Regions from separate parts of the Homo sapiens genome. Here regions 2, 3, 4 and 5 are each linked to region 1. Evidence: promoter capture Hi-C in 16 types of primary human blood cells and fetal thymus (Javierre and others, 2016). All regions are on one chromosome and are shown on one strand. The core of a region is centred on a gene start or on the middle of the fragment in contact, and the rest is flanking DNA. Distances in the headings are between cores, read along the strand shown.

Evidence for each region. The method cuts DNA at HindIII sites, captures the fragments that hold promoters and counts their contacts. A CHiCAGO score of 5 or more calls a contact.
Region 2: a contact is called between a fragment that was not itself captured here and the fragment with the promoter of POLR3A in region 1, in 9 of 17 cell types (total CD4 T cells, total CD8 T cells, naive CD8 T cells and 6 more). The highest score is 10.3, in total CD4 T cells.
Region 3: a fragment that was not itself captured here is called in contact with the fragment with the promoter of POLR3A in region 1 in 4 of 17 cell types (fetal thymus, naive CD4 T cells, total CD4 T cells and 1 more); the score reaches 7.2 in fetal thymus.
Region 4: a fragment that was not itself captured here is called in contact with the fragment with the promoter of POLR3A in region 1 in 6 of 17 cell types (naive CD4 T cells, total CD4 T cells, activated CD4 T cells and 3 more); the score reaches 12.0 in naive CD4 T cells.
Region 5: a fragment that was not itself captured here is called in contact with the fragment with the promoter of POLR3A in region 1 in 2 of 17 cell types (naive CD8 T cells and activated CD4 T cells); the score reaches 8.6 in naive CD8 T cells.

Annotation. Positions count from the first base shown.
Region 1 is chr10:78,027,268-78,033,334 of GRCh38, reverse strand. POLR3A (RNA polymerase III subunit A) reads left to right here and starts at 3,820. Exons shown (of 31, transcript NM_007055.4): 1 at 3,820-3,971. The coding sequence starts at 3,928. RefSeq lists an enhancer at 3,651-3,900. The HindIII fragment of the contact is 13,008 bases long and covers 1-6,067 here.
Region 2 is chr10:79,146,850-79,152,916 of GRCh38, reverse strand. The region is part of intron 3 of ZMIZ1 (zinc finger MIZ-type containing 1); the gene reads right to left. Among named protein-coding and RNA genes, the nearest start is that of ZMIZ1, 81 kb to the right of the region's middle. RefSeq lists silencers at 2,715-2,794, 2,855-2,914 and an enhancer at 6,005-6,067. The HindIII fragment of the contact is 2,773 bases long and covers 1,785-4,557 here.
Region 3 is chr10:79,118,882-79,124,948 of GRCh38, reverse strand. ZMIZ1 (zinc finger MIZ-type containing 1) reads right to left here. Exons shown (of 25, transcript NM_020338.4): 2 at 5,925-6,034. Among named protein-coding and RNA genes, the nearest start is that of ZMIZ1, 53 kb to the right of the region's middle. The HindIII fragment of the contact is 1,612 bases long and covers 2,889-4,500 here.
Region 4 is chr10:79,072,950-79,079,016 of GRCh38, reverse strand. All of the region lies in intron 1 of ZMIZ1 (zinc finger MIZ-type containing 1), which reads right to left. Among named protein-coding and RNA genes, the nearest start is that of ZMIZ1, 7.0 kb to the right of the region's middle. The HindIII fragment of the contact is 597 bases long and covers 2,936-3,532 here.
Region 5 is chr10:79,030,689-79,036,755 of GRCh38, reverse strand. All of the region lies in intron 5 of ZMIZ1-AS1 (ZMIZ1 antisense RNA 1), which reads left to right. Among named protein-coding and RNA genes, the nearest start is that of ZMIZ1-AS1, 34 kb to the left of the region's middle. The HindIII fragment of the contact is 7,741 bases long and covers 1-6,067 here.

The DNA.
Region 1 (6,067 bases), core at 2,571-5,070:
GTCATTATGCAAAATTAGATTTTGAAAAATATTTGGCCGGGCGCGATGGCCACGCCTGTAATCCCAGCACTTTGGGAGGGCAAGGCGGGCGGATCACCTGAGGTCAGGAGTTCGATACCAGCCTGGCCAACATGGCGAAACCACGTATCTACGAAAATAAATAAATAAATAAATACAAAATACAAAATTAGCGGGGCGTGGTGGCTCATGCCTGTAATCCCAGCTACTCGGGAGGCTGAGGCAGGAGAATCGCCAGAACCCGGGAAGCAAAGGTTGCAGTGGGCCGAGATCACACCATTGCACTCCAGCCTGGGCAACAGGAGCGAAAATCCGTCTCAGAAAAAAAAAAAAAAGAAAAGAAAAAAAAGGAAAAAAAAATTGGAAGCCAGGGGCAGTGGCTCACGCCTATAATCCCAACACTTTGGGAGGCCGAAGCAGGTAGATGACCTGAGGTCAGAAGTTCGATACCAGCCTGGGCAAAATGGCGAAACCCCGTCTCTACTACAAAAAAAAAAAAATTGGCCGGGCGTGGTGGTGCATGCCTCTAATCCCAGCTATCTGGGAGGCTGAGACAGGAGAATCGCTTGAACCCGGGAGGCGGAGGTTGCAGTGGGCCGAGATCGCACCATTGCACTCCGCCTGGGCAATAAGAGCGAAACTCCGTCTCAGAAAAAAAAAAAAAAAAAGGAAAAAAAAATTGATTGCTCCAGAAATATTTTCTTTAACGTGAAACAGACATGTAAAGAATGTAAATATATATGTTCCGGAGAAATAATAAGAAGAATTTCCCAAATGTTAGTGCAGACGAGGTGTCCAAGGTGCAGGCTTTGCGGGCAGCTTTCCTATTTTCTTTTTTTTTTTTTCCTGAGACAGAGTCTAGCTCTTGTCACCCAGGTTGGAGAGCAATGGCTTCATCGCGGCTCACTGCAACCTCGACCTCCCGGATTCAAGCGATTCTCCTGGCTCAGCTTCCAGAGTAACTAAAATTACAGGCCTGCGCCACAATGCCCAGCTAATTTTTGTATTTTTAGGAGAGACGGGGTTTCACCATGTTGGCCAGGCTGGTCTCCAACTCCTGACCGCAAGTGATCCGCCCCCGCCTCGGCCTCTCAAAGTGCTGGGATTATAGGCGTGAGCCACCGTCCCCGGCCGACTATTTTTCTTTTTTTTCGTTTTTTGTTTTTTTTTTTTTTTTTGAGACCGCATCTCGCTCTGTCACCCAGGCTGGAGTGCAGTGGCGGGATCTCGGGTCACTGCAACATCCGCCTCCCAAGTTCAAGCGATTCTTCTGCCTCAGCCTCCCGAGGTGACCAACTATCCTTATTCTTAAGAAAATAGTCAGCCGGCTGGGCACGGTGGCTCATGCCTGTAATCCCAGCACTCTGGAAGGCCGAGGCAGGCAGATCACGAGGTCAGGAGTTCAAGACCAGCCTAGCCAATATGGTGAAACCCCGTCTCTACTAAAAATACAAAAATTAGCCAGGCATGGTGGTGCGCACCTGTAGTCCCAGCTACTCGGGAGGCTGAGGCAGAAGAATATTTATTGAGTGATTGTAATGTGCCTGTTACATTCTAATTACTTTTACCTTCATTTTGCTATTTAACCTTCCCATTGACTCTAAGAAATAGGATACATATTACTCACCCATGTTATAAATGGGGAAACTAACACACAATAAGATTAAATAACTTTCCCAAGTTCACACTTTATATACGTGTATATATACACGTATGTGTATATATACACATATATCTATATCTATATCTATATATATATATATATATATTTTTTTTTTTTTTTTTTTTGAGGCAGAGTCTTGCTCTGTTGCCCAGGCTGGAGTGCAGTGGCACAATCTTGGCTCACTGCAACCTCCGCCTCCCGGATTTAAGCGATTCTCCTGCCTTAGCCTCCTGAGTTGCTGGAATTACAGGAATGCGCCACCACACCAGGCTAATTTTTGTATTTTTTAGTAGAGACGGAGTTTCACCATATTGGTCAGGCTGGTCTCAAATTCCTGACCTCATGATCTGCCCACCTCGGCCTCCCAAAGTGCTGAGATTACAGGCGTGAGCCACCGCGCCCGGCCTGCACAACTTTATTTTTTATTTTTTTTTATTTTTGAGATGGAGTTTCACTCTTGTCGCCCAGGCTGCAGTGCAATGGCATGGTCTCGGCTCACTGCAACCTCCACCTCCCAGCTTCAAGCGATTCTCCTGCCTCAGCCTCCCGAGTACCTGGGATTACAGGCGCACACCACCAACCCCAGCTAATTTTTGTATTTTTAGTAGAGATGGGGTTTCACCATGTTGACCAGGCTGGTCCCGAACTCCTGACCTCAGGTGATCCGCCCACCTTGGCCTCCCAAAGTGCTAGGATTACAGGCGTGAGCCACCACGCCTGGCTGCCTACACAACTTTAAATGGTGAAAGCTAGACTCCCATGATGGCACTGTGATTTCATAACTTTTGCTCTTAACCTCTAGATAAGTCACACACGATCCAACCCTTGTTGGTATAATATTGTAAACATCAGAGCCGGGTGTGGTGGCTCACACCTGTAATCCTATCACTTTGGGAGACTGAGGCGGGCGGATCACGAGGTCAGGGATTCGAGACCAGCCTGGCCAACATAGTAAAACCCCGTCTCTACTAAAAATACAAAAATTAGCTGGGCGTGGTGGCGGGCGCTTGTAGTCCCAGCTACTCGGGAGGCTGAGCCAGGAGAATCGCTTGAACCCGGGAGGCGGAGGTTGCGGTGAGCCGAGATTTCGCCACTGCACTCCAGTCTAGGCGACAGAGCGAGACTCCGTCTCAAAAAAAAAAAAAAAAAAAAAACAAAAAAAACCCATAATGTTGACTATATATATATATATATATATATATATATAGTCAACATTATTTCATGATTAAGTGATGGAGTACCGAAATGAGTTAGAAAAACCTGATATGCCTCGTTTGTCTGTGACATTGTGTTTTGCTAGTGAGGATCCATGGCGTCTGAAAATGAGATAGCGTCCCTTCTTAAAAATTGAAAGTTGTTAAACACTTTTGTTAAGTTCTGTTTTGAGTTTCTCACAAATAATGAGGACTTAGTTCTAATTCTAAGCGCTAAGCCCTGTGGTGATGTGATTTCCTTGCTAGGCTCATGCACTAATATATCACACTAGGATCACCTCCCACAAGTTCTCACAGACTGTAGACAACTTATTTCAAGACATGAATGATCTTTACTTTCCATTCTCCCTTTTCTTCTGTAGATTACCATGGCTGTTTTCACTCTAACAGATTTTCAACTGTTTTTGTAATCAATAATGTAAGTTTAATTCTTCCCCCCTCCCTCCAAATAACTTCATGAACTGGAGGCACATGTGCGCCCATATTTTCCGCTCTGTTTTCCTTTGTTGGTCCTCCACAGATAGTGCCCTCTGTTGGATGGGCCGGTTCATTTTAGCTTCCACCTTCCCTTAAAACAATTAGAAGCTCTTAATTTAGATGGTACTGATGTTAATGATGATGATTTTCCATTTTATGCAAGTTTTGGCCCTCTGCTTGTCTAAAAGCCTTGAGGCAAAGAGTTATATGCAGTTTCTCTGCGGGTGTCTGATTACGTGGAGAAATTGACCAGAAATGGGATTTTTAAAATACAGCACACGCCTCGGTGCGGCTTCCAGTAAGCGCCACCAGGTGACGGTGCGGGGAAAGGGAAAAAAAAAAAAAAAAAAGGCATGCCGGAAGTCTCTCTTGACAGACAGACGCGCGGGCGAGTAGCGGAAGAGGAAGCGGACACGTGGGACACTCTACGGTGGCCGAGAGGATGCCGCAGATGTGTTAGCGGCGAGTCCAGAAGCAGCCCCAGGAGGTGCTGGGGGCATCGTTTCTCTAATCTGGCCTCCCGAGTGCCAAGGAGGCGTCCCGGCAGCGGTCATCATGGTGAAGGAGCAGTTCCGGGAGACGGATGTGGCCAAGAAAATGTAAGACGGAGTAAGAGTGGCCAAAGGGCTGAGAAATAGGGCAAGGGGTCCGAGGTCAGCGGTCCCGGGTCTTGCAGGGTCAGAGATGGGGTGCAATGGGAAGGGGAGGGCCAGTAGTCCATAGGTGTGACCAGCGCCCAGAACTACCAGCGTTGGTCAAAGAGCATTGGTCAGGCTGAGGGGATTTCAGCACCTCGAGAGGTCCCTGGACTTGGGCGGAGAAGTCGGAGTGGCCTGAGCCTTAATGATTTGTGCACCCTGGGCCAAAGCTCGCATTCTCCTGAAGTCATACAATGATCCCTGTTCTTCAGCGAACTATCCCCTGCTGCAGCGAGGGGAGCAATCTGGGGCGGGGACTGTCTCTAATTCTGTCAGCCGCAGAGCGTCTGACACGGAGGCAGTAGTTGCTTACCAAAAGGATGGGGTTGCCCACTAGAAAGCTGTACCACAGGCCGACGGATGGCAGTGTCAGAAATAAAGCTGCTATCCGGACTTTTGCCTTCAGAAATACGTTATTAGGCGGTGGCTCCTTCTTAGAGTTCTCGGTAAGAAAGTGAATCCAGCCGGGCGCGGTGGCTTACTCCTGTAATCCCAGCACTTTAGGAGGCCGAAGCGGGTGAATCTCCTGAGCTCAGGAGTTTGAGACTAGCCTGGGCAACGTGGCGAAACCCCGTCTCTATCAAAAATACAAAAATTAGCAGGCGTGGTGGCGCGCCCTTGTGGTCCCAGCTACTCGGGAGGCTGAGGCCGAAAAATCACTTGAGCCTGGGAGGCAGAGGTTGCAGTGGGCAACCTCCTGCATTCCACCCTGAGTGACAGAGTGAGACGGTGTCTCAAAAAAAAAAGTGAATTCATCATTCTTACAGCAGACACTGAGGAGGATACTGCGCGTTATTCCCAGTGTTGGACGTTAAAGATACGGTCTGAATAAAACTTTTACTGCCTAATCTAGTTGGAGAAGGTACACAAGTCAACACTGGGTACGACAAGTGCAATGACAAGGGTAGGTCCAGGGGGTTTTGAGAGCACATAATGGGTCCAGGCAAAAGAAAGCAGACCAAACTGCTTTTTTCAAGGAGCAGACCTGAGGGAGAGAACACAGGTGATCAGAAGGAAGCAGAAGACTTGAAGCTGTGTTAAGAAGTCATCTTGTAGGCAGTGAGGAACCTTTGAAGGATTTTCAACAGGAGAGTATCTTGATAAGAGTTCTCCTTCTGGAAAATCTCTTGATTCATGGTGGAAAGAATTAGAGGTCGAGAGACCTTGAGACGGATATACAGAATGCCTTGCTTGGGCAGCTGTGTGGATGGTTGCCATTCACTAGAACAGGTGTCTTACCTAGGTGAATGCAGCATTCTCCCATGTGGTAGCTCTACATCGACACTGGCCCTTCACACCCACCTGTACACCTGCGCCCAGTCAGATATAATACATTCTCACAAAACAGAGAAAGTGCTTCTGTCAAAGTGCAAATTAAGGGTATTGTCAATTAAAATCCTCTAGCAGAGGCCAGGAGTGGTGGCTCACGTCTGTAATCCCAGCACTTTGGGAGGCCATGGCAGGCAGATCATGAGGTCAGAAGTTCAAGACCAGACTGGCCAATATGGTAAAACCTCATCTCTACTAAAAATACAAAAATTAGCTGGGTGCGGTGGCGCATGCCTGTATGCCTGTAACCCCAGCTACTTGGGAGTCTGAGGCAGGAGAATCGCTTGAACCCAGGAGGCAGAGGTTGCAGTGAGCTGAGATCGCACCACTGCACTCCAGCCTGGGTGACAGAGCAAGACTCTGTCTCAGGGAAAAAAAAAAATCCTCTAGCAGCTTTCCATTGTGTGGGCCATCACGCCTAGCAAATTTTTTGTATTTTTAGTAGAGACAGGGTTTCACCATGTTAGCCAGGATGGTCTCAATCTCCTTGCCTCGTGATCCACCCACCTTGGCCTCCCAAAGTGCTGGGATTACAGGCATGAGCCACCGCACCCGGCTGCATTTATGTTATTTAAATAAATTCCCTACCAAAGTTCCCAAGCCCTCATGCTTTAGCTCCTGCATGCTTCACTGACTTTATCTTGTACTATTAGCTTTCTATGCTCCAG
Region 2 (6,067 bases), core at 1,922-4,421, 1.1 Mb before region 1:
GTACCAGGCTGGCAGGTCCAGGAATCCCCGAATATTTTCTGGAAGAATGAATGGGCAGTGAAGGCAGCAGTGGTGCATAACTGGCTTAGATCAAAGAACATGGTGGCTGACACTGGTACAGATTCTATAAGGTGGGTGGTGTTAGCCCCATCTCACAGATGAGGAAACAGAGGCTCAGAGGCATGAATTCACTTGCCCAGTATTAGAAAGTGGTAGAGCTGTACTCAGCACAGCCTCTGGGCTCCAGAACCCATGCACCAGCCCACAGTGCTGCCTGGGGATCCGGGCAGGGCGGAGAAAGCAGCCCGTCTGAGGCCATCCAGACTAGAGCTTTCAAGCCTGGCCGCAGGCCCCGCCCCGGAGATCTGATTTAACTTGTTTGGGGTGGGTTATCTTTTTTCTTTCTTTTCTTTTTTTGAGACAGAGTCTCACTTTGTAACTCAGGCTGGAGTGCAGTGGTGTAATCTCTGATCACTGTAGCTTCGACCTCCTGGGCTCAAGCGATCCTCCCACCTCAACCCTCCAAGTAGCTGGGACTGCAAGCGCCCACCACCACACCCAGCTAATTTTTTATATTTTTTGTAGAGACAGGGTTTTGCCATGTTGCCCAGGCTGGTCTCAAACTCCTGAGCTCAAGTGCTCCTCTTGCCTCAGCCTCCCAAAGTGCTGGGATTACAGGTGTGAGCCACTGTACTGGGCTGGGCTATCTTTCAAAGCTGCCTCGGATCTCATCTGGGGCCATGGCTGAAATCCCTTGGCCAGCCTAATATCCACTCTTCAATGGGGGAAATTGGCTCAGAGAAGAGGAAGGGGACCTGCCCAAGGTCACCTCTGGTGTTGGGGGAGCCTGGGCCCTAGAGCCCGGTCCCCTGACTACTCCATCCTACGTTTTGAACTCTTATAAACAGAGCAGAGCACCATCACCTGGTGGAGCAGCCCAGGGGGCCCAGATGGCGGCGGGCGAGATGAGGCAGACAGGCGGGAGGAGCCAGCACAGCACGCAGCCAGATGACACACAGGCCCAGCAATTCCTGACTCATGGCCACCCAGCCCGTGACTCCACCCACCGCCAATGCCCCCACCCTGGCTCACATCCCGCAGCCCACTGCAGCCTCCAGAGTCCACTCCCATTCAGAGCTAGAAAGCCATGGAGGGAGGGAGAGGCAGTGGGGCCCACCCGGGCCTGAGTGGCAAACCCAGACAACCCCACGCCGGTGGGACTCAGGGGCACCAGAGGAAGAAGGAGGGGTGGTGGTGCCACCCTCAGTGCTGGCTCTGAGCAGCGCCTCTCCAGCCTTGCGGACAGGCACCCAGCTACAGGAGGAAAACTGAGGCCTCCCAAGCCCAGCTGGTGCTGACACCCACTTGGGCTAACTTTCTTTGCCCCATGACCCCTCTTGAATCAGGGCTCCAACACCGGATGAGTGTGCCAGGCTTCTCTGCTGCCGGTTCCTCTCCCCATGAACTCACTACTCCTCTAAGAACTTTCAGTGGCTCCCCACTGCCTACGAAATCTAGTCCTAATCCTGACCTGTAATGTTTCCCTCACAGGGAAAAGGCTGATTCAAAGGGAAGGGCCGCAGGGGGCCCAGCACTGTGTCCCCAAATCTTAAGGACTTCTCACAGCACCCTAAGACACTGGCTCTGAAAGGTCCACTTGCCAGATGCAGACACTGAGGCTCAGAGCAGCAATGTGTCCAAGGCCACCAGAGTCTGAGCTGTGGCCACCCCATGGCAGGGGCTTGGCTGCTCAGGTGCCTGGTCTTCCCTGCTGCTGACAAGCTTTCAGCTCGCCCAGGAGCTCAAGGTGGCCCCCGGATCTGTCTTAACCCATCCAATGTCACAACGACTCTGGTCTTTCCCCGTGGTGCCCTGACCCCTCTGCTTGGCCCCCTTTAAGACACAGTTGATTCCCTAAGCTGCTACCCCTGCTGATACTGAGGTGGGCTTGGGCTTACTTGGGGAGGTGGGTCATGGGTCAGAGAGCACCCACCAGGAGGGAGGAAGAGGATGGGGTTGGGAGGGTGGTGGGACAGCCTGCCCCTCAGCACAGCCCCATCCCTGCTTCTGGCCCAGCTCCCTGAGCAGAGCTGAGAGACGGAGGCATGCTCCGTCGCCCGGCTTCTGGGAGATGAGAGAAGGGGCTCCTTTCCAGGCAGACAGGGGTGGATGGGGAGGTTTTGTGTTATCACCCCCCAAGCCTGGCTGTCTTCACAGGGCACACATTCAACCCACCCCAAACCCTTTATCCCATGGGATGCTCATTGCTGGGCAGAGCGTCTGCCTCTCCCTGTTTTTCTACAGATGAGACCCAGAGTGGCTGAGTGACTTGCCCAGGTGCACCAGCAGGTTGGTGGAGGATCCCAGACCAAGAGCCCCAGCCTCCTGGCTCCCAGGCCTAGTCCCACTGTGAGGTTTCTCCTGCTAGGTCCCCAAGGGTCACAGGCTTTGTCTGAGAGGAGATAAGTCATTAGCATGTGTGGGGGGTGCAGGACGGGCGTGGGCCCAGAGCTGCCACCACGGGGAGGCCCAGGGAGGGGGTCAGCGCAGGCCAGAGGCAGGGCGGCCCGAGGTCGGGCTTCCTTTCTCAAGAGGGCAGGATTCCTGGCAGCAGCTCTCATGGGAAATAGGAGAAGTGCCAGCCGTAGAGAATACGGGGTGGGGCAAAGGTGGTGTCTGGGCAGGGCTTCCTGTTGGGTGGGCGGGTGGCCACTCGCCGAGGCCTAGTGACCTGCACGGCTGCGGCCCGGGGCCAGGCCAGGGTTGGGTTTCGCCTCATCCCTGGCTCAGGCCCAGGCCACCCTGAGCCCCATCCTCCAGCCCCGCCCTGGCTTCCTGTCCCACTGGCCCCACCCAGCCCAGGGGAGAGGGAGGGCCGAGCAAGCCTCCTCAGAAGCACCAATGCTTTCTGGGGGCTGGAGTGGGCAGGCCACGCTGGCCTGCTTAGTGGCCTTTGGCCTCTTACCTCTAGGCCTCCCACCGTTCATTTTCCAGTGTGAGGCCTCGACAAAAGTGCTGCTGGGTTTTCTTCCCAGGAGGGCACACTTCAGACACAGCTGAGCGGGGGCCCCTGATTGAATCCCTGCCTTTCCAAGTCAGCAGACAGCAGTGTCCCCTGGGAGAAGTCATGCCCAAGAGACCAGGATGAGAGGAAGAGTGAACCAAGGCCAAGTTCAGGCTTCGAATGCAGAACTTCCTGGAGGGCGAGCTCTTGCAGAAGGCGTGCCACCCCACGGGGCCACGCAGCCCCACATGAGGACAACGTGATGTCAACCACAGGCACAGCGCCTAGAGAAAGACCCCTTCACCCCACCCTGACTTGGCATGCCTGAACCCCTGAAGTGTCTGGAGGAGTCTGGGTGGGAGGGGAGCTTGGCCCAGGGGCTGCAAGGCTACCCATGGCCTCCAGGTGAATCCAGCCCATTCCCTGTGGCCTCAGGAACTGGAGGCTCACCTGTCCACAGGTTGGGGGTATGGTGGGAGTGCAGAGGTTGGCAGCCCGACCCAGTGAGGGCAGAGATCTGAACAGAGGCCCTCAGCCCTCTCCAGTCCCCTCTCCTGCCCATTCATGCTCTCCCAGGGCAGAGGGACTCAGAAAGCAAATAGGCCAGAGAGCAAGGAGGACTCTTCCAGCTGGCCGACAGCCCACCAGGGACAAAAGCCTCTTGGCTTAGTGCTGGGGATGAACACAGATGGGAGGGGGTGTGGGCCTGCCTGGGGCCCAGCCTTGCTCGAGATTACCCCAGGGACAGGGACAGAGATAGGGACAGAGCAGGGATCCAGGTCTCCTGCCTGTACCAAAGGCAGCCCAAGGGCCTCCTCATGAAGGCAAACTCACAGCAGTCCCTCCTGGCTCCGGGAGCTCCTGAGTGGTGAGAAGGTGGGTCAGCCCAGCTTAGGCAGGAACTGACTTTAGCCACACCCTGGCTGCCAGCGCAGGCCACTGATGACTTGTCCAGATTACCCCAATCAAACAGGCCCTGGCGGGGCCACGTACAGACCCAGCTTGATGCTCTGCCTGCAGGGAGGAAAGCCCGGGAGGGACTCAATTGGAAACTGCCAAGGGCCTAAAGTCTGTGGCCCTAAGACAAGCAGGGTGGAAGACAGAAGTCAGCGTCAGCCTGGTGGGAGGCCAGGACCCCATGTCCCAGGAGGAACTACAAGACGGCAGTAGTAAGCCTCGTGACCCCAGAGATATGCAAGCTGAGGCTGGGGACATACAGGCCTAGGCAGCATTCTGGGATGCTGACCCAGCAGCTTTATTAAAAACCCCGGCCCAGAATCCACATTCAGTTGTAGGTGGCATGATGGCGGATCTGCGTCACCCTCAGCCCTGGCCACCCAGCTCCACCCCTTTTCCGGACAGGCGTTTCCTAGAACAGCCTGAGCACACGAGCCTGTGGGACTCTTCCAGATTGAATACCCTAGACCTCATCACAACAGAGACAAGGTCTGATGATGCTCTGTGTGGCCTTGATGCTGGCTCTCTACACCCCCTTGTCTCAGGCACCTGGTGGGCTCTGCCGTTGGCCTATCCTGGGGAAGTACGCCTAAGCTTCCTCAGAACCCAGGGGAGCCTGTGGGGTCAGCCATGCCCTGCCTCCTAGCCAAGAGCCAGCTCTCTCCTAGGCCTTACCTGGGCCTGGCCCTGGGCCCACCCTGGAATGTTGCTGGATTCCAGTTCGGCCGTGATCATGCAGGGTGAGGGATGTATCTTTTGTGGAGCGTGGGCCCCATACAGACTTGGCTGCCAGGAAATGTTTGTCAAAGGAAGGAAAGAGGGAAGAAGCAGGGAGGAGGTGGACAAACAGACACATGAATGCAGGTGGGCTCTCAGAAGCATGGCCCCAAAAAGCCACCACAGCCCTCCTCCTCCAGGCCCCCAGAGATGGTGTCATCTATGCAAGACACAGTATGCAGGCTGACAAACCTCGATGAAGGCCTGGGGAGGCCCCACTCTGCAGCTGCCACTTCCCCTGGTGCTCTGCTCCCCATGTGGGCTAGGAGAAGGCCCCCAGGTGTCCGAGCCCAGGGCCTCTGTGTTCTGCCCACATGCACACATTTGCTTTGGAAGCCCAGGGTCTGGCTCACACCTCCCTAGAGGAAGGGGACACTCTCCCTGGCTAGAAACACCTGCTTGGTCCATGAGAGGCTCGGCGGTGCCTCTCACTGCTCTTCCTGAGCCCTGCAACAATGTAGGGGTTGCATCCTCCTGGAATGGCAGTGGGGTGGGAAATGGCCAGCTCATGACAAGATCACAGGGGTTTTGCAATGAAAGGTGATGCTGCCCATCCAATGGGAAGAAAATATGTCACAGAGGCGAGGGTTTGACGAAGTTTCCAGAAGGTCTGTGTTCTGACAACCCCTATCCCTGCCTAGCCCAGGTCCTGGCACACAGTAGGTGCTAATAATTCAGTGGCCTGATGGATGCACACGGGAGGCCTGGCTTCCACACTCCTGCCACGGAGGCCAGGGCTCTAAAGCACACTCCAGGGGCCATACACATGGTGGTTGTGCCCATGTGTGTCCCTTTCTCTGGTGAGGACTCTGTCTTTCTCGGCTCCCCCTGGTCAGAAGGTGCCCACCCTCTCTATTTAGGGCTGAGAGAGTTCTCTGTTATCAAGCTCTGTGCCTTTTCTTGACAGATGGGTTGGGGCAGGGAGGTCAGTCGTCCAGGGAGGGCAGAGGATCAGAACAAGGCCATTCCCCAGCCCAGGCCTCCCCATACCAGATTCTGAGGCCCAAGAGCTCTAGGACCCAGCTCGGGGCTCCCTGATGCCCATGGCGATCCTCGCTGCCACCACCCACACCAATGTGGCCCTTCTCCCTGGCTCTGTGTCACGGCCTCCTGGCTGCAGCTGGCCTGAACTGCTTACTTGGACAAATAGCGAGAGAAACCAGCCACGTGATGGCTAAGGTTTCCTTGGCCAGGGACAGGGATATACACACACACACACACACACACACACACGTACACTACACACACGCACAGCCACTTGTGGGTCAGGTAGTCATGTGGCCCAGGCTTCTGTGTCTCTGAAGGACAAGTGACCGGCTGCCCTTCTTC
Region 3 (6,067 bases), core at 2,445-4,944, 1.1 Mb before region 1:
GCTCTCACAAAGGAGGTGCCACTGCCCTGCAGTCTCTTTTAGCTCCCCACTCCCTGCAGGTTCATGGCCAAACTCTGTGGCCTAGCATTCAAGGCCCTCAGGGGCTGCCTCAGCTGTGGCTGAATGAATCTTCCTCCCCAGCCGGACTGCCCTGACCCATGCCACCCAGTTGTGCAGAGACCCCAGGAAGACCCTACTCTTCCACTCTGTATAGGAACCCCACTCCCCTTACCCCTCCACCAGGAAGTCTTCTCTGGCTGCCTCCTACAGCATGAGGAAAGAGCTGCACCTACCTAGCAACCCTGCACTGGAGACTGTGACCTCTACTCAGAACTCCGGACCTGGAGCTGTGCTCTCCCAGCTCAACTGAAGATTCACTATTGGATACCAGGGCCTAGCACGGTGCAGGAGCACAAGGAAGTGTTCAACACCAAGCTGGCTGATGGACAAAATGGATCACCCAGCAAACAAGCAAGTATCTGTGACAGGCAGTTTGTTGTGGTAGGGAAAACACATATTATGGTGTCAGATAAAACTGGGCTGAGTCCTAGCTCCACTATAACCTGTGTGACCTTGGCTAAGTTTCTTAACCTCTCTGTGCTTTGAGTTTTCTCATTTGTACAACAGGATAGTCCCAACTTCAATGGGTTGTTGACACCCTTGAAGACTGCAGTTTGTAATCCCTGACCTACCCCAATCCTCTGATTTTACAGACCAATAAACAGCTGCTCAGAGAGGGGCAGCAACTTGTCCAAGGTCACACAGCAGTTCTTAATGGGACTGAGGCTTGAACACAAGTCCTGCTCAGAGGGCCCACCAGGACAGCAGTCCCACCCTCCTGACCTAGAGGGGCATCCTACCTTGGGCAGGAATAAGCAGTGAGCTGCAAACGATTCCCAGATCCAGGCTTGGGTGGGGGTTGTGGAGTCATAGCAGGCTGCAGAGGCTGGGGTGGAGGGCCTGGGCTGCAGGCCACAGATTTCACGCAGTGGGAGGAGAGGTGTGCATTCTCAGCTGGCGCTGAAGATTGACAGGCATGCCATATGCGGACCCTGGAATCCCAGCTCCGTGTGGCCACGGGCTGGGCCCTGGCCAGGCCTGCTGTGAGCTGGGCTTGGCATTCAAGGTCTTCATGGCCAGCCCCAAACCGCCTATGTAACCCTGGAAGTCTGCTGACTGACAACTTAGGGTGTGCATGCCGGCAGCCTAAAGCCACACACCAGGGGCTGGAGGGGCTGGCGAGGAGAGTGCAGCCCTCACCCCAGGTGGCTGCCCACAGAGCTCTGAGCAACAGCTGTTTGGGATTGCCTCATATGAAATCCAAATCCAGCCCAACCCCAATCCCTGATCTCCCTCTCCACCTTCTCTTAAAAGACCGCACAACCATGCTGCTCAGTGGAGGAAACCCTCCTGTGTGGCCACAGCCCTGGAGTCCACCCCCTACTCACTCCCGCTACTGCCACCTCCACTCTTCATGCTAGAAAGTGCCAGAAAGCACTAACCATGCTCCAGGCATGGCTGTGAGAGTGCCCATGGCTTACTTCGTTGAATCCCTCCCAACTAGAGGGATATTCTCCCCATTTTACAGATGAGGAAATGGGGCACAGAGAGATGAAGTCGCTCATCAGAAGCCACAAAGAAAGGGGTAACAGAGCTGGAAAACCTCCATGCCTCAGCCCGGTCCACAGCCGCAATCTGCCAGCATCCTCCACACTCATCCACCAAGAGTGTTTTGAGTGTCTTTTGTGAAGTGCCAGCCATATGGAACAGTTTGTCATGCCCCTGACACGATACCCCTCTCATCTGTGGCCAGCCTTTGCCTGCGGTTGCAGCCCAGGCCAGCTAGGGCCTTCTCACCTCTGCCCCAGACTTCAGAGCCATGTATACCTGGCTCTAGTCCGCCGAGCCACGTGAACTGGGCCACATCACTTGTGGGGAAAAGCAGGGCTGGGCGCTAGTCTGCTCTAGCTGGCTGGACCTCTGCGCTCTACCAGGCCCTCTTCAGCAACCCACATACCTCTCCTGGGCCAGGGGCTGGAGCTTTCTACCAGAAGGGAAAAGCCAGTTTTCCCAAATGCTGCAAGATGAGGCGGCCGAGGGTGGAGCCTAGGTACCATTCTCTGCTGCCACTGTCTACACCCCTACCCGATGTGGGTCTGACCTCAGCCCAGGAACTTAGGATGGTTGTACCTCTGAGCCTCTGTTTTCCTATCTAGCAAATGGGAATAGGGCCTTTCAAGAGCTCTCCAGGGTGTGATGGGTGTGAAAGGACTTCGCACACTGTAGAGAACTCTATAGTGCAAGAGGTCATTGCAGCTACTGAAGGTATCACAGAGTAAAGGTTGGAAGGGAGGAGCTGGGGGGTCAAAGAAATCTGCATGACATCTAACCTGCAGGAGTGAGTCTGCCAAGGAGAGATGGGAGTGTGGGCAAGGAGCAGTCCAGACAGGAGGCTCTGCAAATAAAACAGAGTAGACTCCCCATACCCTCCACTGCCCAGCCAGGTGGATTTGGAAAAGCACAAAAAACCAGGCCACCAAGGTAGACAGGGGCAGCGCTGGAAGGTAAATGGGGTGGGTCAGGAGAGCCTTGAACATCACTACGTGACGGAAAGAGTTGCCACTCCACCCCGGCCAAAGCTTCTGTCCTGGACTGCTTGGGATAAGCTAGATGCTGGCACCACTGACCCTCCTCTGCAGGCAGGAGGGTACCATCGCTCATTGGCAGATGAGGCTTATGGAGATGAGGAGGACTTGCCCAAGGTCGTGGGCCTGGTAAGTAACTGGTGGCGCCTGCACGTGAACTCAGTTCTTGGCGCTAAATCCCACAATTGCTACACTTACTCAAGCAGGGTTGGCTTCACTGGCCGTCACACAGGGCCACAAGCTTAGAAGGACCCTACTCTGCTGTCATCATCTTGAAATCCTTTGTAATTCATGAACAAAGGGCTCTGCATTTTCATTTAGCATTGGACCACAGCTAAATTATTTAGCTGGCCCTAATTCTAGGAGACTCTGATGGGTATTGTTGGGTACAGATGCAGGTGCGAAGGGCCATGAATAAACTCTCACTTTTCTGGGACTTTGGTGGAGCTGAGCCTTCTGCTGGGTCTTCCTTGGCCTTTGACATCAACCTAGCAAATTTCTCCTCTTTCCAAGGCCCAGCGTAAATATCACCTCCCGGGGATCCTTCCCAATTTCCTTCCATAGTGGTACCTACCACCCATGCCAAGCAGAACCTTGGCTCCCTGTGCTGTGGTCCCACACCCTGATCCTTTAGCAGGTCACAGAGCCTCCCAGTGGATATGCAAGCAGTGGCTACCTCTCCAAAGGCCTAGGACTCCTCCAAGCCTCTTGGGTACCCCAGAGCTTTCTGCTGGCCAAGTTTCCAAAGGACAATCCTAAGGATACTTTACAAAGGAGTTGTGGAGAGGAAGTTACTAGGTCATGCTAGAAAGCAGACCCCAGAGAATAGCCTATCTTTCTATTTGCAAGAAAATGGCAGGTATGCCTGGGAATACTAGGTCAGAACTAAAGCCCAGATAATCCCAGAAGCCTCCTCGGGAACCCCCTCTAACCTGGAGGGGCTCTCTGGGAAGGAGGGAGGGAAAGGAAAAGGAAGTGTTGAATTGAGGTGGGTGCAGTGTGGTTAATAAGCACCCAATTCTGGCTGTGCTACTTCCTGGCTGAGTGGCCTGCCCTCTCTGAGCCTCAGTTTCCTTATCTGCAAAGTGGGTAATAAATGACCTATCCCTGAGAGGAGATCATGGGAGAAAAGAGCATAAATGTTCACATCTGATGACGTGGATCCGAAGCCCAGCTCCAACACTTATGAGCAGGTGTCCCTGAGAACCTCACCTGCATTTATTGTGCCTCAGTTTCCTCATCTGGAAATTGCTTGGTAAGGCCTTCTCAGGCTTCTCAAGGGGATTTAGAGCACTCATGGAGGCAATGTGCCAGTCTCCTGGCAGGGAGTCAAATGTGGTTGTTGTACCAAAGCTGGGCACTGCAGGCCCCCAACTCCTCACGAGTCAACAGGGAAGTGCAGGTGGGAGAGCGGGAGCAGGGATGACACAGACCCCACCACCTTGGTGGAGGCAGGCAGGGTGGACTGTCATGCCCATGATTCAGAGAGTACCCAGGCCCCAGGGGATGAGAAGCCTGGAGAGGAACAGCCCCCACATCCCCACTTTACCTGTAACCTGTTTTATTCTCATGAGACTACTAGCTTCAATTTGTTGAAGCCCTGCAGAGTGCCCAAAATTGCTCTCGGCAATCTACACAGCAGCCTCTCATCCTTGCGGCCACCGTATAGGAGGCGGACAGGGACGATTCCTGTTTCCAGATGGGGAATGAGTCCTAGAGCGGGCAAGGGCTTGTCCATGGTCAGTCACATGGCTGGCCCTCAAGCCCCAACACCCTCCCCAACATACACACAAACAGAGCTCCAGCTCAGCCTCGGCCCAGGCTGTCCAGAGCCTCCCAGGAGCTGCTGGAAGCTTTTGCCGATGCAGAGCCATCGACCTCTGAACTGCCTCTTCTTGTTGGAATGCACCCTGCGTTGTGTGTGCATGGATATGCAGCCCCGTGTGTCAGAATGCTGTGTGCTTGTGAGAGTTTGTGCCCGTGTATGTGTGTAGTTCCAACACGAGTTTGTGCATGTGTATGTGAGCATGCAAGTGCACGCAAGTGTTATCTGTGTGCATTCATGTGGCATGCAGAAGCGACGTCTGTGTACACGTTTGTGAGGAAGCGCACATTTGCACATCTGTATTATCTATGCACTCACCACCACTCATGTCTGTGTGTGCATGCACATCCTGCCAGGTTCTGCTCCATCTATGCTTCTGTCTCCCCACACTGTAACTCACTTGTGGTCACCTCCCCAGAATTCTCCCCCCAGCCTCTGAACCCTCTCCACGCCACTGTTATGGGGCTTGCCACATCACTGGGATCTTTCTGTTTCTCCACGGAGCAGAGAGTGGGACAGGCCCCTTTCCCTTGCACCGCAGTTGGTACCTAATCCAGGAGTTGGCACACAGTAAGTGTTTAATACAAGCTTAGGAAAACGAACTTGAGGGGCGGAGGGAAAGAAAGCCTTATCCAGCCTACACACCCCTCCTCTAGAGGGGGCCCTGGCTGCCACCTCAGAGGCACCCAGAGGCCAGGCCTGGTCCCTGCCACATCACATCACAAATGGGTCATGACCCCAGACCCACCAGGAGCCTGTCACCTGGTAAAAGCCCCTCTCCCTTTTTCTTAAGTTGGGACAGGATCTGGCACTTCTGAAGACACCCATAATTGCCCTGATCCCCACCCCCAAAAAGAAGCTAGGAGCAAGGCCAGAGGCAGAGTAGGCCAGCGGGCAGTGGCTGGCGCACTGGAGCCACACAGACCTGGACTTGAACCCTAGGCTCAGCCAGGTGTGCCGCCTGGGGCAAGTTACTTCCTGAGTGAGTGACGTTCAGTTTTCTCACATGTACAATGCTGGTGATTACAGCAATGCTCTCATAAGGCTGCTGTGATGCTGAAAGAAGTAATAACTCTATAGTACTTTGCACAGTACCCAGAATACAGTTAAGTGCTTGTCGGGTTAGAGGATATCATTACTGTTATTTCCATGGACTAGAGTAGAAAGCTGAGGCCCTCTAGAAGGAAAGGGCTACCCAAGGCGATACTGGGAGTTGGCAGCAGAATAAAATCCCATGTCCAGGTCCCAAGTCAGGACATTCACCACCCTCCACTGTGTGGCTTTCTTTGAGAGGAAAAGGCCAAGGAACAAATAAAGACTGAGAAAGAAGCCCCTTCCCCTCCCCAGCCCTCTGGGCCCCTGAAACAGCACCATGCACTCTGGGCAGCCCGCACTCCCTGTCTGCCCCACGTCAGCAGGTGCACAGCACCAGAGGGCCAGCCCATCCCACTTACCTGCTCAGGCCTCTGCAGAAGGACCAGGACTCAAGTCTGCTGAGAGCGTCTGGAGGAGGAGGTGGCAGCCCCAGCAGTAGTACGAAATCAGAACACAGCTGCCGTGAGTCCTATGGGAGACAAGAAAGGGGGCAGTGAGCTCC
Region 4 (6,067 bases), core at 1,985-4,484, 1.0 Mb before region 1:
CCTCCTCTCCTCTGTGAAAGGCTCCCCTGGAAAGGTGGTTCTTCAGTAGGTAAACCATCCGCTGGATGGAGCTGCAATGCCTGAGCTGAAAGGGACTGTTTACGCGGGCGTTTCCCAAAATGGTCTATTGGTCTTTTCCATAGTTATTTTGCATTAAAAAAAGGGTGGGGCTAGGCATGGTGCTCATGCTTGTAATCCCAGCACTATGGGAGGCAGATGCAGGTGGATTGCTTGAGCCCAGCAGTTCAAGATCAGCCTGGGCAATATGGTGAAACACCATATGCAAAAAAAAAAAAATACAAAAATTAGCTGGGCATGGGTGCGCATGCCTGTAGTCCCAGCTACTCAGGAGGATGTGGTGGGAAAATCACCTGAGCCCAGGAGGCAGAGGTTGCAGTGAGCTGAGATTGCACCACTGCACTCCAAAAAAAAAAAAAAAAAAAAAAGTCGGGGGTGGGTGGTGTCTGTAGTCTGGGGAAAGGCTGAGTGAAGCAAACTATTTACTCTGAGCCATCTCCTCCAGGCAAATAGGTTTGACAATTTCTTGGGGGTGGGGGTGCTCTGCTGCCCTCTCTTTTGCTTTTGGGGACTGGTGGCCCTGAGAAGCCACTTCGGGAAGAGATTATGTTGTTTCGGCTCATGGTCTTCAGATGAGGAAACTGAGGCTCGGAGGGGTGAGTGACTGGCCAGAAGTTCCAGTCAGTTACCATTCATAGTGATTCCACATAATAGGGTACAACTGACAAGCCCAGTCCCTCTGTGGCCTCCTTCCCTTCACACGAGAAGAGTCCAAAAAGTAGGTATTGTTATTATGAGCCTCAGTTTACACATGAAAAAAATAAGCTTCTCAGACAGAAGCCCAGATGCAACACCTCCCTCTCGAACGCCTTTCCAAGGGGAACAAGCTGCCCTAGTAGGTTGAATTACAATGTACTTGGGTTATGACTGACTGGGGGCCTCTCAGAGATGATGGGCCAGCCCTTTGTGCTACACAAGAGTGTGGAAAACGGCAGGGAGTTGGAGATCAGGAAGCCTAGGTGCCAGCAGGCCGCTTTGGTTGGGCTCCAGGCACCACATGACCTGGGCAATCGACTTCACCGTCTCATCTGTAAATCAGAGGTAAGGCAATGGGAATGCTGGTGGTGACCATGACTAGGGCTACCTTTTCTTGAGCACTTACTATGTGCCAGGAAGTTTGCGCACTCCATCTTCTCAACCTATGGAGGAGGTAGTATGTTAGTTATTACTACACCACTAGTAAGCCTGTTTTACAGATGTGGAGACCAAAGTCGGAGAAGTTAAACATTACTTGCCCAAAGTTACAGAGCTCATAAAGAGCAGAGCTGAGGGCTGAACCCAGGCAGTCTGGGAAAAGCATGAAACACATTAGTTGCCCAATAAATGCTGGCTATTATATTTATGGCAGACCTTTGGCAAGTTGTTTTAAGTATGTAAACAACAGCAGGAACACCAAAGCATTTTTCGATGGAACACCATTTTTCGATGGAAAACCCCACCCCTCCCCACCCAGACCACAGAACCCCCCACTCTTAGTGAGACACCCCACTGTATGACCCCCAGCCAATCCCACCACCTCTCTGGGCTTTGGGTTTCCCCATGTGGAAAATAAGAAGGTTGGACAGAGACCCTATAAGGTCGCGTCCCACTTGCACACACCAGGAAAGGGTTTCAGGACTCTTCCCAGAGGTCTCTGTGCCCTGCTGATCCTTGGCTAGGTCGCTGAGTGGTTAGAGCTGTGCACTGTGCTTCCCAGCGGCGGTCAAGGTCCACCGGGGAGTAGGGGTAGGAGTTTGGGTGGGACCCCTGTGGACAGGGCAAGGTCCAGGCACCTGGCATCTCCTCCTTTGTCCTGAGCCTAGCTGGCTCTTCCTAGTGTGCTCTCACCTAGGCTGACAAAGGTGACTCTCAGCAGGTGACTCCTAGGGTGGGGTGAGAAGGCCACCTCCCTGCTTCCCCATACACAGAGGAAGTGAAGGCAGGACCAAGTCAGTGGGTCATTTGCTCTGCAAAGGACAAAGGTCAGCTCCTGGAGGGCTGGCTGGAGGGGAGAGGGGAGGTATGGGAAGCTACCATCCTCTTGGCTTAAACAGGTCCCGGCAGATGAGAAACCTTGTACCCTCCCTAGATGGTTTCTGTTTTGTTTTATTTATTTATTTTTTTAGGCAGAGTCCTGCTCTGTCATCCAGGCTGGAGTGCAGTGGTGCAATCTTGGCTCACTGCAACCTCCACCTCATGGGTTCAAGTGTTTCTCATGCCTCAACCTCTCGAGTAGCTGGGACTACAAGCGTGCACCACCATCATGCCGAGATAATTTTTGTATCTTTAGCAGAGATGCGGTTTCACTACTTTGACCAGGCTGGTGTCAAACTCCTGACCTCATGATCCACCTGCCTAGGCCTCCCAGAGTGCTGAGATTACAGGCATGAGCCACTGTGCCCGGCCCTGTTTTACTTCTCTCAAATTCACAATGCAACCACCCTGTAAAGACACATGCTGCTGGGCAGGGGCTCTAATGCCAGACCAGGAGTGTTCCACACTCCCCTGGCTGCAGAGGATCTGGGAGTCTGGGAATGCCACTGAAAACTCCCCATCCTTCGTCCTCACCCTGAGCACTCAGAAGTGAACCCCACCCCCAAGGTTCAGCTGGGCCTCTCATCAGACCCGAAGAGCATTTATTAATGAGCTCAAGAGTGGCTAAGGGGGGCTGTGCCAGGCCAACAGCACACACTCAATACATGTTTCATGAGCTAATGGACTGGCGGAGATGGGGTTCCAGGCCCAGATCGGTCACCCATTCGCTGCTGACCTTGGATGAGACCAAGTGTTTCTTTCCATGGTTCAGTTTCCTGGGCTAGGAAAGGAAAGGCCAGACCAGGTAACGCAACCAGTTCCCACTAATTTTATGCTACAAGCTTAGGAATTCAAACCCCAGAGTCAGAGAGGTTCACAGTGGAAGGGGCTTTCCAGATCTTTCCCCGAAGCTCCCGAGCTAAGAGGAGGGCAGCACAGGACCTAAGTGGGAAGATCCAAGGCACACCGTCCCCATCCTCCCTGCCAGTCATCCCCTGCGGATTGGGAAGTGAGAATGGGGTGCGGGGAGAGAGGACAGATCTCCATTTAAGCCAGACACCAAAACAGAACTTTCGAAGAAAGAGCTGGGGAAAGTACAGTGTATGTATTTTAACACACACCCCCATCAGAACAGCTTGGCCATTTCCTGATCTGCATTGAATCAGAGGCTCCAAGAGGGCAAGTATCTGGCTAAGAGTGGTGGGGGAGGACGGAGAGAGCTCTCAGGTCTCAGGACCCTGGGCCAGGCAGCCGGAGTCCTGGCAGAAGCCCTGGCCAGCAGGGCCAGTGTGTGCATGTGTGTGCAGGTGTGCATGCGTTTGCATGTGTGCAGGTGTGCATGTGTGCATGTGTGTGCATGTGTGTGCAGCTGTGTGCAGGTGTGCACACACACAGGGCTGGGGGAATATAAGACAGGTAACTGCCAACTGGGGAACAAGCTTGGGGACAAATGAAGCCCCCCAAGCCCTATCTCTAGGGGCAGAAGTCTCTGGAGGGTTCACTAGTCCCTGGAAATTCCAGACTTTCCCTGAAGTGCCTAGGGACAAATATCCCAAAGTCAGACCACTAGTCTTTGATGCTCCACTGCTACCAGCCATCAAGGTCCTGAGCCAGTCTCTGTCCCTCTGTGGGCCTAAGTTTCCCCATCTGAACAGTGAAGGGTTTGAGCTGGGTGATCTCAAAGGGCTATGTCCACTCTGACAGTCTGCGATACTCAGTTTCTACAGAAAAACACGACACCCACCATCACTCAAGCCCCCATCCTCAAGACCTAAGAAGGCAGTCCCCAGGCCCTCAGCTGGCTGTCTAGGGGTGGAGCTGGGGCTGGGGCAGAGCACAGTCCCCCCACCGTCTGTCCTCAACAGCCTGCCACAGCCGAAACCTTCAAGTGGTTACAATTACAGCCAGACTAACAGGATTAGGGGAGCATTGAAATCTAAGAAATCTAATTAGCTCAGACACCCCAGCCTCCCCCAGCACAATCCTGCAGTAACTCCGGCAGCTGGGCCTGACAGGCAGGGCCTGGGGCCCTCCCAAGCCACAGTCATTACCTGCACAGGTGTGCCAGGCTGGGCCAGGCTTCCTGGGGAGGTGCCAGCTCAGCCTGCCCGGCTGCTCCCTGGCCTGAACCCCACTAGCTACAGCCTTGTCCTAGGGTGGCACTCAGCTGAGCTACAGAAAACCAGGCCCAAGGGTGGAGGCTGCAAGGGGCAGAAAGAACCTAAGGTCTCACACGGAGTGGGTGCCCCACATAGCCTGGGGACTGACTCAGCCCGAAGAGGGACTACAGAAACCATAGGAACCCAAGGAAGAGCACTGGGCTTCATGGGGACCCGGGGGGCTGGAAACACCTCTGCCTCCTACTCCAGAGCCGGAGAAGGGCATGAAGCCCCATGTATAGACCTGTGTGCCCTGGGCAGTCAAGGCAGGATTTGTGTCTCGAAGCAAGCTCTGGCTGTAAGACACTGTGCCAAAAGAAAGGGACACAGCTACTGGGGGCATGGACCATGTGCTGCCATATGGGAGGGGGAAGACAGGTGAGGCCCATCTGTGACCCTTCCTGAGAATGGCTCCTCCTTCACCTCATTCCCCCAGCACCCAGTTTTGGAGCCTATCCTGACTCTGCACCGTGTCCGAGCCTGGCTGGAGCGCTCACTCAGTGGACTGGAAAGGAGGCAGCGCAGGGGTTGGTATCGGTAAGGCCTGAGGTTCAGTCCTAACTTTGCCACCAGTTGTTTGACCGCTCTGAACCTTGGTTTTCTGCTCTGTTAAATGGGGATAATTCCAAATAGTAACTAGCTTACACTGTTGTTATTGGGGATAAACAAAGATGGAAAAAGCTTCTAAATCCACCAAGTACCATACAAAGGAGAGGGGCTGTGGTTATTACTGTCATCACGCGCCCGTGGCAGGCAGCCAGCTGGTAGCGGTTAATTATTTATTTGGACTGATCTTCCTGCCGGCACTGGACTGTGGGCTCCTGAGGAACAGGAACTGTCTTCCACAGTTCTGGTCTCTCCCAGGACACAGTCTTTATCCACAGGGTGGACACTCACAGTCAACACCTGTGGCACCCATGCCGGGCCCGACCCAACCCCAGCCCTCATCACGCACCCCCTTCCTTCTCATACCCCGCTCCAAGGAAAGTGCCCAGAGGCAAACCTGGCACACAAAGGCAGATGACAGTGAGCACCCCCAGGCAGACCCTTCCCCCTTCTGCACCCCCCACAACAGGTCATTCCCAATAAGGGCTAGAAGCAGCCACTTGAATGTGTCCCCCTACCTAGGGGCCTGCCTAGGCACTGGTCTTGAACCCAGGATCATTCAGGAAAGAACGAGTCTATGGTCTGGAGGGCCCCCCAGCATCTCAAGCCCAGAGTGGGGTCAGGAGGTGTGGATTTGCAGAAGGCATGTAGCAGAACATGTTAACACTCACAACTGCCCACTGAAGGCAGAGGCTTCCAGGAGGTAATGAGTACCCTGTCCTGTGGGGGGCATGCAAGCCAAGACTGGACAATCAGCTGCCAGGGAAGTAGGTCTGGATGAGAGCAGCTTCAGCAAAATGCTTCTAGCACTTGCAATCTAAACCCTTTGTGTTCTACCCATTCTGTACCCAGAGCCTCCCAGGCCTTCAAGGGACACATGCCTAGGGGACTCATGCCCACATCTGCCTCATTCTCCCAGCAACCAAGTGGGATCGGAGGAGTTCTGCCCTCAGACCCATTTTACAGATCAGGAGACTAAGGTCCAGCACAGGAGAGTTACTGGCCCAACACAGATAGCAAGCAACAGCCTCCTGACACCTTGGTCCTCTCGCCCATCTCCTCCGGTAATAGGGAGACCCTCTCAATCATGATGGGGTCTAGCCTCTCCCCAGAGCCTATGCCTAGGACTGCTTTTCTCAGCCTTCTCCCTTCATCCTCTCTAAAGGCAGGGCCCAACCTCAGAACGCCCCGGAGCTTACAGCCAGGTGGAT
Region 5 (6,067 bases), core at 1,188-3,687, 1.0 Mb before region 1:
CCAGATGTCCATGATGCTCTGTTACCTGTAGACACTGTGAGTGTTAGCGTCTGTGGCCATGGTGCCAGAAGGGCAAGTGGAAACTATGACGGTTTAAAAACAGTTCCCTAGGCCAGGCGTGGTGGCTCACTCATGTAATCCCAGCACTTTGGGAGGCCGAGGTGGGTGAATCACCCGATGTCAGGAGTTGGAGACCAGCCTGGCCAACATGGTGAAACCCCATCTCTATTAAAAATACAAAAATTAGCTGGGCATGGAGGCACATGCCTGTGATCCCAGCTACTCAGGAGGCTGAGGCAGGAGAATCACTTGAACCCAGGAGGCGGAGGTTGCAGTGGACTGAGATCATGCCACTGCACTGCAGCCTGGGCCAAAGCGCAAGACTCCATCTCAAAAACAAACAAACAAACACACACAACAAAAAAAACAAAAACCAGTTCTCCGCATTCTTTGACACTCATCCCATCAAAAGGTGGACTTCAATTCCTCTCCTCTTTGATATAGGTTGGCTGTAGTGACTTGCTTCCCATGAGCAGAATGTGTCAGAAGTGATGGTGAATGATGTGGTTAGTTCTAAGAAGGCAACTCGAGGCCAGGTTTGGTGGCTCACGCCTGTAATCCCAGCACTTTGGGAGGCCTAAGTGAGGGGGAAGATCCCTTGAGCTCAGGAGTTTGAGACTAGCCTAGGCAACATGGCAAGACCCTGTCTCTACAAAAAGTTTAAAAATTAGCCAAGCGTAGTGATGCATGGCTGTAGTCCCAAATACTTGAGAGGTTGAGGTGTGAGGATCACTTGAGCCTGGGAGGTTGAGGCTACAGTGAGCTGTGCTTGCACCACTGCACTCCAGCCTGGGCAACAGAGTGAGACCTTGCCTGTCTCTAAAGACAAGAACAATGCAACTCAGCTGCCACCTGACTCTTCCTCTTTGACATGCACCTTGGGAGCCCTGATCTGTTTTCTGTTCCTATAGTTTTGCCTTTTCTAGAATGTCGCATAAGTGGACTCATCCAGCCTGCAGTCTTTGTGTCTGGCATCTTTTACTTGGCCTATTGCTTTTGAGATTTGCCCCTGTGGCTGTGTGTGTTGGTAGTTGGGTCTTTTTTATTTCTGAATAGTATTGTTAATCCATTCATTTGTGATTTGTATGCCCACCCCAGGGCTGGGCACAGAATGGGTGCTCCCCAAATGGGTGTTGAGTGGCTGAGCAGGGGAATGGGAGGTGAAGGCAGAGACTCCTGTAGAAATCTGTTCAAATCAGTCTTTCATGGGGATTGGAGGAGGCAAGGTGATGACGTTTATCATTCATTAATTCACAAATATTTATTGAGTGCCTACCCATGCCAGATGCCATGCTAGGCCATGATAAATGGTTCCTGATTACCCAGAGCTACCCATTCAGCTGAGAAGACAAATAACTCACCAAGCGGTTGACATCAAGGGAGACGTGTCCTGAAGGAAGGGAAAGCAGGGCAGGGCAAGGGTGTGGTTGGGTAGACAGCAGGGCAGCCACTCTAGGATGGTGTAGGGGGCCAGATTAGGCTTCCCTGGGGAAGTCAAGGCCTGCAGGAGGTGGTGTCTGCTGAACCATGGAGGAGGGCAGTGTGTCCTGGCAAAAAAGGCAGAGGTGTGAAGACCCATGTGTGAGTGTGCAGCAGGTTAGAGGAATGAGTCTGGTGTGACTCTAGGGAGTGGTCAGATTTGGGGCTGAGAGGTGGTCCTAGGACAGATGTGGAGAGCACCTAAGTCACATCGACAAGTGTGGCTTTTGTTCTAGAGGCAGCAGGATCTGTGGAAGGACTCTGAGTTGGAAAGTGATGTAATTAGGGTCTCTGCCTCCAAGTGGAGAAAGGACTGAGTGCACAGGTGTGGGTGGGGGTCCAGCGTGGGATGGCAGTAGCCTGGGAACAGGTGACAGCAGTAGGAACAATAGATTTCAGACCAATTTAGAGGCTGACTTGCCGGGATCTGGTGACTGATTTTAGGTGGGGTGCAGAGAGAAAAGAGACTGAATCCCAATTTGGGACTCAGGCAACAGAATAGATGGCAGTGCCAATCTTCGGAAGAGGAGTGAGGGAGGAGGGGCAGGGAGTGTGGTGATGATGAGTACATGTGGGAACTGTGGAGGCTGAAGTGATTGCAAGATGATCAAATGCAAAGTCTAGCAGGCAGTTGAACATTTTGGCCTGGAGAGGAAATGTGGGCTGAACGTAGGGACTTGGGAGATGTTGGTGTCTAACAGGGAGTGGATGAGCTTGCCTGGAAATGAGTGGAAATGGTGCAGGTCACAGGGCTCGGGCCAGAGACCCGGGGATCCCCAGGATTGAAAGAGCAGGAACAGGGGTACATAGTGGCCTGAGAGAAATGGCACGGAGAAGTAGAGGTGAGGACCGAGAGGAGCACTGGGGAAAGTATTGAAAGGAGAGGCAGCGGACCCCAGGAAGCAGGCAAATCAGATCAACCACAGGACTCAGGTACAGCCAGGCCCTGGTGATCTTGGAGAGTACCCTCTTGGAGGAGTGGCGGAAGGGGAGCCAGTGGGGGAGTGAGTGAAGGCTGGAGCTGCTGAGGAACACGGGGATCAAGCAGAACTTCAGACGAGAGACTTGGGCATGTCTAAGAGCTGACGGGAAGAGCTGGTACAGAGGGGCATTCTGGCCTCAAACCTAGGGCCTTTGGACAACAAACATTTACAGTAGTCCCACCTCATCCCTGGGGCATACGTTCCAAAACCCCAGTGGATGCCTGAAACCATGGATTGTACCAAACCCTATGTACACTATATTTTTTCTTAAACATACACACCTATGATAAAGTTTAATTTAAAACTTAGACATAGTTGCCCAGTCGCAGTGGCTCACGCTTATAATCCTAGCACTTTGGGAGGCCAAGACGGGGAGATCACTTGAAGCCAGGAGTTTGAGACCAGCCTGGGTAACATGGTGAAACCCCGTCTCTACTAAAAATGCAAAAATTAGCCGGGTGTGGTGGTGGGTGCCTGTAGTCCCAGCTACCTGGGAGGCTGAGGCATGAGAATCACTTGAACCTAGGAGGTGGAGGTTGCAGCGAGCCAAGATCTCACCACTGAACTCCAGCTTGGGTGACAGAGCTAGACTCTGTTCAAAAAAAAAAAAAACAAAAAAACAAAGCAAAATAGCACAAAAAATAGTAGGCACAATAAGAGATTAATGATAGTAAGTAATAATAAAATAGATCAATAATAATCATATATGTTTATTAAAGTTATGTGAATGTGATCTCTCTCTCAAAATGCCTTATTGTCCTGTGTCACCCTTCTTGTGATGATGTGAGATGATAAGATGCCTATGTGATGAGATGAGGGGAGGTGAATGATGTAAACCGGTGTGCCCAATCTTTTGGCTTTCCTGGGCCACACTGGAGGAAGAATTGTCCTGGGCCACACACAGAATATACTAACAATAGCTGAGGAGATGACAAAAAATTGCAAAAAAAGTCTCATTTTTCTTTCTTTTTTCTTTTTTTTTTTTTTTGAGATGGAGTTTCACTCTCGTTGCCTAGGCTGGAGTGCAATGGCGCGATCTCAGCTCACCGCAATCTCCGCCTCCCGGGTTCAAGCGATTCTCCTGCCTCAGCCTCCTGAGTAGCTGGCATTACAGGCATGCGCTGCCATGCCCAGCTAATTATGTATTTTTAGTAGAGACGGGGTTTCTCCATATTGGTCAGGCTGGTCTCAAGCTCCCGACCTCAGGTGATCTGCCCGCCTCAGCCTCCCAAAGTGCTGGGATTACAGGTGTGAGCCACCATGCCAGGCCAAAGTCTCATAATGTTTTAAGAAAGTTTATGAAGTTGTGTTGAGCCGCATTAGAAGCATCCTGGGGCACATGCAGCCTGTGGGGCACGGATTGGACAAGCTCAATGTAGGCATTTTGATGTAGCATTAGGTTTCTATCGACCTTGAACAGGAACACTGTAATACCCTGATAGCTGATCTGATAACCAAGAAGGCTACTAAGAGATGAAGGAGTGGGGAGTGTAGACATCTTGTGCTGGATAAAGGGATGATTCATCTTCTGGGCAGGATGAAGTGGGACAGTGCAATATTTCATCTCGATATGCAGAATGGTGTGCAATTAAAAACTTATGAATTGTTTATTTCTGGAATTTTCCCATTTAATATTATGAGACCACGGTTGAACACAAGCTGTGGGTCAGTGGGGACTACTGTGTTATCCCTCACAGTTCTTGGTTGACTGGGTTCAGCTGGCCACTTCTTCTGGTTCGCATGGCGTATGCTGGGGCTGCTGTCATCTAAGGGTTTGACCAGAGCATAAACACAGCCCATTCAGATGGTGGGGGCTGATGCTGGACGCTGGTTGGGGGCTTGGCTGGGGCTGCCTCCATGAGGACTTTCTACCTTGATTAGGCTCCTCACAGCCAAACAGCTGGATTCTAAGAAGAGTGTTTGAAATGCTCCAAAACAAGCTATAGACTGGGACGGGTGGCTCATGCTTATAATCCCAGCGTTTGGGGAGGCCAAGGTGGGAAGATTGCTTGAGCCTGGGGGTTCAAGACCAGCCTGGGTAACATAGTGAGACCCCCGTCTCTACAAATAAATAAAAAATTTTTAAAAAAATTAGCCAGGCATGGTAGTCACGCCTATAGTCCTACCTACCAGGGAGGCTGAGGTGGGAGGTTTACTTGAGCCCAGGAGTTTGAGGCTGCAGTAGCTATGACTGTACTACTGCACTCCAACCTGGGTGACAGAGTGAGACTCTATCTCTAAACAAAACAAAAACAAGCTACACATATCTTAAGATCCAGTCTTGGAAGTGACAGCATCACTGCCACCATATTCTACAGGTCAAAGTGAGTCACAGGCCAGCCCGAAATCAAGAAGTGGAGAAATAGACCTCATCTTTTGGTGAGAAGCGCTGCAAAGCATTTGGGTAATCTTTAATGCAGCACAGGACAGGGTGCACCTACAAGAGAATCACTGACGGATCCACTGAGAAAATGGCAGAGCTAGGGGTCCAGGGCACTGCTGGGATTTGCGTTAGAGAAAAGGGTTTGGAATGGGCTTCCAGAAGGATAGAGTCACGTTGCATTTTATCAAAAGATCTGAACAGGCCAACCAACCACAAAGTTCCTGGTTGTATAAACCTCTTTGTACATTTCCATCTCCTTGTACAGTAGGTAGGTAGAGACAGCCTCTAATAACAATATATTTCATTGAGTGCTAATATATAGCCTTAATCAGTTCTCCCAAGGGGCCTATGAGGTCAATGTTGTGATGCCCATTTTATAGGTAAAGCAACTGAGGCTCAGCAAGTCTCTCTCTCTCTCTCTGAGTTTGTGTGAATGTCTGTGTTGATTGCATGCCCATGCAAAGATATTTGCTCTCTGCATCTGAGCAGCAGGAAGCCATTAGAAGAGGAAACCCATATTGGATGAGAATTTCATTCCACACCCAGGAAAGCAGGGTTAGGATGTGGGGGCACCAGCTCAGGCCCTGGTAGCTGTGCCAGGGACCTAGGACCCTGGCATTGTGAGGTCCCCTCCTCTCAGAGCCAGAGGATGGGGAGAAAGGACGAGATGCTTGGCTGCTGAAACCATGGACTGGTGGTGACCGCCATTCCCACCACCCTAATCATGCACTTGTGATATTAATAAAAATAATTTATGTCATGTGACTGCTTTTTAACTAGCTGCTTTCAAGACTTAAGACCAGGATTATAAAAGGCATGCATTTATAAATTATTAGCCCAGAGCTCATAAGCACATATACTTTGGGGAACACTTTGGTAGCACTTTAAATTAATTTATTGTCATTCATTCCAGCTGTCTGTGATGTAAACCTTCAGCTATAAATTTGTACCATCATCTGACACACCATTAACTAAGGTGCTGCCCGAGCCAGAGCATACAATAAAACACTTAAATACAATTTCTGTAGGGATGGATGTCTCTTCCTTCTCCTTCTCCTTCTTCTCCCTCTCCTTCTCTGTTCTCCTCTCCTCTCCTTTCCTCTCCTGCTAATGACAAGCAACACAGAGAGAAGTCAGGTGCTTGAGAGTTGTGTTGGCAAAA